Regions from separate parts of the Homo sapiens genome. Here region 2 is linked to region 1. Evidence: promoter capture Hi-C in 16 types of primary human blood cells and fetal thymus (Javierre and others, 2016). All regions are on one chromosome and are shown on one strand. The core of a region is centred on a gene start or on the middle of the fragment in contact, and the rest is flanking DNA. Distances in the headings are between cores, read along the strand shown. Region 1 holds the start of DCHS2 (dachsous cadherin-related 2). Region 2 overlaps DCHS2 (dachsous cadherin-related 2).

Region 1 (3,944 bases), core at 369-2,868:
GGCTCGGCGCCTCCATCGCGGGCCTCCACCACCAACTGGTGCCAGGCCTGTGCCTCGCGGTCCAGAGGTCTCCACACTCGCACCACGCCGCTCAGCTCCTCCACCGCGAAGTAGGCCGCGTCGCCCAGTGCCCCGCCGCCGCTACCCGCCCCAGGCACTTGCCGGGCGCGGACGCTGTAGCGCACGAAGCCATTGGGCCCCAGGTCGCGGTCGGTGGCGCGCACGCGACAGACCTCGGCGCCCGGCTGGGCGTCCTCGCGCACCGCGGCGCGGTACTCGTCCTGCTCAAAGACCGGCGGGTTGTCGTTCTCATCCAGCACGCGCAGCTCCACGCTCAGGAGGCCGGTGCGCCGGGGTCGGCCGCCGTCCCATGCCTCGATCTGCAGCCGGTGCGCCGCCGCCTCCTCTCGGTCCAAGCGCCGCAGCAGCACCAGATCTAGAGGCTCCAGGGGTGACGAGGAGCCTGGCAAAAGCGGTGACGGTAGTGGCCCCGGAGTCCGGTAGCGCAACTGGAAGAACGGGCCTGCGGGGTCCTTGGGCAGGTCGGACGGTTGCACCAGGGTGTAGCCCTGAGTGCTGAACAGTCCGGCGTCCGGATCGTGGGCAACTGGCAGGCGGAAGGCGGTCCCTGGCGGGCTGAGCTCGGAGACGTCGAGTTGCAGGGAGTCGAGGGGAAAGCGGGGCGAGTGGTCATTCACGTCGTTGACGCGAATCTCCACCTGCACCACAGCGCCCAGCAGCGTGGCGGCGACGAAGCTGTAGTGGTCCCGCCGCTCGCGGTCCAGGCGCCGCGCAGTGCGGATGATGCCGGTGTCCGGGTGCACGTGGAAGTCGTCCAGCAGCGGGGAGTCATCGGAGTCCTCCGACAGAAAGAAGCCGCTCCCCTCCTGCTGCTGCGCGGCCGGCAGCCCGGCGCGGATGTCACCTACCAGCGTGTCCGGGGGAAGCCCCTCATCTACGGAAAGGGTGAGGTTGAACAACTGGGCAGAGGAGCCCGAGGCCGCCCACAGCCACACGTGCACCAAGAGCCAGAGCAGGGAGCGCTGCGTCCTGGCGCCGCTGCTGCCTGACCGCCCATGGGGTGTATCTCTCCTCCCGGGGAGCAGAAGGAGCTTCCCGACCGGAGCCCGCCGCTGCTGACGCCCTTCGCCCATCTTCCGCCCACAAGGGCTCATTTCTCCTCCAGCTCCTTGGGAAGGCTCTCGGGTAACTGCCAGCTTGTGGCAGGATCGCAGAAAAATCCAGGAGCCTCTTCAGTGTCTGAGCCAGAGAAGAAAAGACTTTGTTTGGCAAACAAACCGACGGCCCAGGAATTCCCGAGGTTACATCTGCAACTGGTGAAAGCGTCCTCTGCCTGCAGCTCACGCAGACAGGGAAGTAAGCTCTAGCTGCCTCTGCCGCGGCAGCCACCTCTTCTGCCCCTGGATTTCTTTAAACGAATCTCATCTCTTTTTCTCTCTCCTTTTATTCCCTTTACATCTGTTCCTTGTTCTACTCGGCTGGTTGTTCCCCCCTGGTAAAGTCAGGTGCATTATTTCTTTTGCCAAAAAGGAGGAGATTATATGAAGCGCGCACACACAAGGAGAGGATGGGGATCTGGCCGGAGTAGGGGGTGGAGTAAGGGCGTGGAGGCAGGGAGTCAGGGCGCTGGGGAGGAGGGAGAGAGGGAGGGGGGAAGGGAGGTCTGCGGCCCTGTCCGCTGCTCCGGGGGCGGGGCGGTGGTTCCCCACTGTGTCTCCGGGCGCCAGGGACCGCGCGACTCCTGCTCCGACCCAGCCTCCGCCGCCTGCCTTCCCCTCCCTGCCGTGTGATGCGGCGCACACGAGGGCAAACTCCAACCTGCGAGCCGCGCTCTGCAGCAGGGCGGAAGAGGAGCAAATGCAAAAGCACTGGGAGACGTGCACCGCGGGGCGGGTGGGGGACGCGCAGGCGGGGCGTCTGCCTGGGCTTGGCCAAGTGCCAAGTGATGATGGGTGCGGGGAGGTGAGAGGAGCGGCCTCTCCGCGGCCTCCCCCTCCATCCGCTTGACCGTCCCTCTGCAGGCCTGACTCTTGGCTCGCGCTGAGCCAAGAGGGTAGAGGTTATCATCACTTTGGGGTGCCAAACTTGTGTTCTCCATTTGGCGAGAGGGACTCCCGTCCGCAGCGGAAGGACAGATGGAGTCAAAGGCCGATGCATAGCTGGGGCCAGGATGGCTTTAAAGGGGAGAAGGCGGAACTTGGAAAAGCCTTCCAGAAAACCCGAGAAATCTGTGGCACACATGGTGCAAACCACACTTTATTATGCGTGCTACTACCCAGCGACGTGTGAGCCTCTTGTCACTCCCCTCTGCCACCAGGAATGACGACAATATATCCGCCCTGAGAACCCTTTTTCTACATTCAGCGCCATCATAACACTTCCAGGATGTCTGACGATGCTGACTGATGAGCAGAAAGCCCTGGTGGCTGACACCCCGCAAGCCCTCAGCGCTCCCCCACCACCCCTAGGCAAGGAAGTGTGCAAGCGGGATAACTCTACGGATACCACTTTCAAAACTAGCTTCTGTCTGAGCCGAACGCAAATGCCAATAAATAGCCATAGTCGCAGATTTCCCTTCAATTAACTATAATAATCGGTAGAAACTGATCAATGGCCTCTAATAAAGTACGCCTGAGAAAAGACTCTCTGGACTCTTAAAAATGGCTGACCATATTTAGCAAGTGGTTTCTGCAATTTTGCATTTGGGCCTGAGAGAAGAATTAATTTCCTAGATACCGTTTCTCTCCTTTAGGGAGGACCAAAAGCCCTGCATAGTGGTTTCTTGCAGCAACAACAAAATGCCTTTTTAAATGTGCAACGGAGGTGTATGTAATTGCTAATCCACAGCCACACCGTTATCTCTACCTGTGACCAAATAACAATAAAATAATTGACTTTGTAGCATATATGTTACCGAAAATGGGGACATTATTAAAATAAATTCAGCTTTCTTTCCCCCAATGAACTCTCTTTAACCATTAAAGAGATTTGTTATGAGTCTTTAGAGTCTTTTTATCTTCAGTCTCTGCATTTGCACCCTAACTAGTCCCTCCCCTCCCACTCTTGCCCCTTTATAAGTAATTCTTTTCTGTTTTTGCTATTGTTGTTGTTGTTGCTGTTTTGTTTTCTGAGTCAGGATCTCACTCTGTCACCCAGGCTGGAGTGCGGTGGTGCAATCATGGCGCACTGCAACCTCATGGACTCAAGTGATTCCATCACCTCAGCTTCCAGAGTAGCTGGGACTATGGGTGCCCACCACTATACCTGGCAAATTTTATATTATTTTATTAATTTATTTGTTTATTTTTTTTACTTTTGTAGAGATGAGGTCTCACTATATTGCCCAGGCTCGTCTCGAACTCCTGGGGCCAGTCTTCCTGCCTAGGCCTCCCAAAGTGCTGGGATTACAGGCTTGAGCCACCGCAACCAGCCTATAAGTAATTCTTGAACAAGCATCTGGATTAATGTTTTTAAAGCTGTCTCAAATCATATTACCTCCTGCTTAGAACCTGAAATGATTCCATTATACTTAGATTATAATTCAGACTCCTTCAATCAAGCTCCTTTTAGTAGTACAGGATCCTATCCATCTTTCTGACCTTGCCTCATACCACCACTCTGGACTCAGCCATCTGCCTTCTTTTTGATCTTGTACCTTTGAATTGTTAGAACTTTCCATGCCTGGGAGTTCTTTTTTCTGCTTTGGAAAGAGCTAGCTCTTTCTCATTCAGGTCTCAACTCCAATGCCCTCTGTTAAGAAAGATCTTCCCTAATTACCCTATTTCAGATAGCCTTTCTACTATAAATGCTATATCCTTTCAGTATATTTCATTCACAACACCTATCAGCATCTGAAATCAACTTGCTTTTTTCATTTGTTTATTAGATTATTACAACCTCAAAACCTTCATTCTGCTTTATCT
Region 2 (4,285 bases), core at 1,195-3,694, 130 kb before region 1:
CACTCATCACTTAGAAAAGAAGGGAAGTATTAGGATAAAGCTTGTTGTTCTATATTATATATGCTGAATATTTCAAACATTCACTTTTTTAAACATTTATATATAAACAGGAGCTAGAAAACCTATTTACTTGAATCTAACTTTTTTTTCAACTTTATTGAGTATAACTGACTAGTAATTGTATATTTGAATCCAACATGCTTAAATAAACTAAGCTCTCTATTAGAAGTTGAGGGGCTAGAAAACATGTAACTCCCATATTTGTTATTAATTGTTTACTATATATAAATATGCATATATGTAATATATGTGTGTATCATAATTCATGTTATTTATTAATAATAAATAATAAAATCATAAATAAAATGAATAACTCTCTTTGCCTATATATTGGTCAGAGTAAAATTTATGACACTATATTTTAATACTTTAAAGTACAGTGATTATTTAGCTCACATTTTTCATGACACTTGCAAATGGTAATTAACCACCAGTGCAGGGACAAACATTAACTTTAAAAAACGTCATTAATTAACTTACAGAGCACTGGTTATTTTCTATTTTAATGACTGCTTGGATTTATACATACCAATTATCATATATAATGTTTGTCTATGCTCTTCACCTTGTCACTTTTTATTTAAATAGAGGAAACTGTTGTAATCAAAAAATGTTTTGAACAGATGCAGTACTAAGTGAACTTAAAGATATATATATACGTACATAATCATGCTCTTCTACTAACTAAGCAATACTGACTTTCAGAATAAAATATCCTGGAAAATGGAATTTTTAACCAAGGTAGCAATTCATAATTAGAAAATAATCAGTAAATCATTACTAAAATTATAAGCCATGAAATAGTTAGCAACAAAAATAAGCACAAAATCATGACCTTCAACAGATACGGAGTTTAAAAGTGAGGTTCTCTCACAAACAGATACAAACCAAAAGCTACAGGATATCAATACCATTTTCTTCTTAGTTGTAGATATTTATGAAGTATCTCCTATATTCAGTTTGTGAGAATATAAAAACTTATTTACCAAATAGATTACACTGTGCTATTTATTTTGCACACAAATCTTAGCGACTAAGTAGTATTGGCTGAAAAAACTAGAATGGATTTGAAATTCTATCTCATATTGAGAATTTTAAAAAATTCTTAAGAAAAAAATGTACCTGTTTTGGAAAAGTCCACTGAGTTCTACTTACTCAATTGGAAAGAGTAAATAAAATTCAACAGATAATTTGGTGTTTAGGTAGTCTTATAAAGAAATTCCTGTCACAATGAGAGGTCATTTTTCTATCTTATTTAGTTGAATCAGTAGAACCTATATTTATCTTAGCTTCATCTTTAGTGTTTTTTTTTAAGTCATAATTATGAAACAAGCCTTGAAATGGAAGTGCAAGAAGTAAATTCAAGTGTCAGGTTTACTACTGTGTCTTTGAGTAAGTCACTAAGAATTTTAGAGTCTTCAGTCTCTTAATCTGCAAATGAACATAAAAATATTTGCCATGTTTATCCCATGTAATTAATGTAAGACTCAAATAGGCAATATTACATATGGAAAAGACACTGAAAACTATTATTATCTGAGACAGAGCAGCACAGGAACAGATCACAGGTTTAGAATGGGATTCAAGTCCAATGCCACCATCACCAACAGTGTACCTTTAGATAAGTCATCAAATCCCTTCCAGCCTCAATTTCTTCCTCCACTAAATGAGGCAGCTAATTTGTAAGGTTCTTTCCATCTTTATAAGTCTGTGATCTGGTACGAGAAACCTAATGAAGAAATTCTCTAACATGCTTTTGTTTCCTATGAAAGTAACGTACACTGATTAGGTGCTCATGATTAATTTTAGACTCTGTCTTGCAAATAAGAGAAAGTCATCATTTATTTGGCAGGAACAGGCTCACATCCCTTATGAAATGAGGTGTGGTATTAATTTATTAACTGTATACCAGAATGTTCAACGTTAAATGTAGGAAGGTGGCGTTTGTGAAGAATTACAAGAATCATTACATGGTATAAAATCTGAGCATAAAACTAACATTGGAAAAGAATCTGCCCTTGAAATACAGAAAACAAGTCTGTACTACATTACTTACAGTCTATGTTAAAATCACACACCCCATACAAACAAAAGATTACAACTAAACACTGAGGAACAGCTGCCCTTGTCTGGCAGTTTGATATCCTTTCAATTACTTGTTTTTCTGTAGTGCTAAACTTGGATTTTGTGTACACCACAACTAAACATAGAACAGACAAAGGCTAAGCCACATAAGCTTGTTGCTGTAAGTGCTACAAGAGCAGGGATTCTTGTCTGTTTTATTCACTGATGTATCCCAAACACCTAGAACACGGCCTGCTGCATCATAAGCACTGAATAAATATGTATTGAACAGATGAACTGGCTTCCATTTATTCCTTGAATAGATAAGCTACATTCTGTTTATGACTTTTATTGATTTGCATTTATATCATTAACATGCTTCTATAGAAAAAGAGATAAACCACAAGATTTAACCAATGGTTGCCTGAATAAAAGAGATAGTTTGGGATGAAAATAAATGACCAGCACAAAAGCTTGAAACCTGCCTGTTGCCTTAAAATGATCTGAATTCCTCAAACCTCAAACCTTGGCATTATGCATTATACCCAGGTAACTTCACCTGCACATGTATCCCCTGAATCTAAAATAAAAGTTGAAAAAAAAGTAGTTTCTTCCAGTGTAAAACTACAGAATAAATAGGACAAACCCCAAAGCTAAAGAACTGCTCTTTTAATGTTACTAAAGAGAGCACTTCAAACGATGGAGGAAGAAATCTACATATAATTCACAAAATGGGATTAAAAATACATGAAAAAAGAGCTATTAATAAATATGTCTCTTGTGTTTCTTCCCGTTAAAACTCAAAACAGTGTGGTCTGCCTTGTGCCCACATCAAAGAAAGCCAGTGAACTAAGAATAAGAGAAATGAAGGCTCAACTCAGTATCTCTCTCGTGGCGCCTAAACACATTTTACAAAAATGTTCTTTGAACCAGCAACAAACCCAGAAAACTAGAAACAGAACAGGAAGATAAACCCACAAGAGAAAACAACCATGACATCGCCACACCCCCTTCTAGTTTTCTCCAAAACATTTTTCATACCAGATGAACACAGTAAGTCAAACAGCTCTATTTTTAAATGCATGAGTCTTGGTTGTGGCATAATAGATCAATGAGAAATCTTTTGTCTTCAGGAAAACACAAGCCTATAACAGAAAGCATGTAAGTTTATAAAATAGCATGTCTGATAAAGAAAGCATCAAAATGAAAGAATGAATGAACCAGTGTGCAAATGAAATCTCTAAGAGAGAATTCTAGAGTAATTCAGGAAGAAGTAGCAATGTATAAATGGGCTCATCAATTCTCAATCTTCTTCTCATATGACATAACATCTCAACCTGCCTATATAAGAACTTAGGATAAAAAGGAAGAAGGAAAATTAAAAGGTGTTGAGACTAGCTTGAACAATTCCCATTGTCAAGGCCAGACAGGTATTCTGGAAGAGAATAGAAAAATCCAGAGACAAAGGGAGGTAACAAAAAGTAAAGTGCCAGCACAGGTAGGCTGGAGAGAAAGTCTAGGGAGAGTTTTGAGGAAACGTGGGGATAGGCCATAGAGTCACTTACCATGCTGTGATTCAGAAAGAGGATTTTAAATAAAGTTTTGCTCCATATATCAATGAAACTCCCATGAAATTTTTAAGAGGCTGTAGGAAGGATTTAAGTTACTTTTGCAATATTTCTAGATGTTATTTATTCATTTATTCCACAAATATATGATGGGGGCACTTTCTTAGGACTGTGTTTACACTGGCAGCCTCTGTAGAGATCGGCCATATGATGGGAGCAAGAAAGTCCAGCTTTATGTAGATTCCTGAAAGAAAATATCCAGAAGAGGAAGACTACAGTTGAGCCTTGAATAACATGGGTTTGAATTGCGTGAGTCCACTTATACACAGATAGTTTTCAATAACAGTTACAAGTATGCCTGCCTCTCCTGCCTGCCCTTTCCTCCGTCTCTACCACCTCCGACACCCACGAGACCGAAAGACCAACCCTTCTCCTTCCTCTTCCTCCTCGGCCATCTCAACATGAAGATGATGAGGATGAAGACCTTTACTTAATGAATAGTAAATATATTTTCTCTTCTTGATGATTTCCTTAATAATAACTTCCCATCTCTAGCTAACTTTATTGTAAGAATACAGTATATAATACATAAA

Evidence for each region. Contacts are between HindIII fragments. The CHiCAGO score rates a contact against its expected background, and 5 or more counts as called.
Region 2: a contact is called between a fragment that was not itself captured here and the fragment with the promoter of DCHS2 in region 1, in 1 of 17 cell types (naive B cells). The highest score is 6.1, in naive B cells.

The regions. Positions count from the first base shown.
Region 1 is chr4:154,490,181-154,494,124 of GRCh38, forward strand. It overlaps DCHS2 (dachsous cadherin-related 2), which reads right to left and starts at 1,619. Exons shown (of 20, transcript NM_001358235.2): 1 at 1-1,619. The coding sequence starts at 1,175. RefSeq lists enhancers at 1-403, 404-1,359, 828-967, 1,018-1,197, 2,000-2,049. The HindIII fragment of the contact is 6,491 bases long and covers 1-3,944 here.
Region 2 is chr4:154,358,618-154,362,902 of GRCh38, forward strand. The region is part of intron 3 of DCHS2 (dachsous cadherin-related 2); the gene reads right to left. Among named protein-coding and RNA genes, the nearest start is that of DCHS2, 130 kb to the right of the region's middle. The HindIII fragment of the contact is 301 bases long and covers 2,295-2,595 here.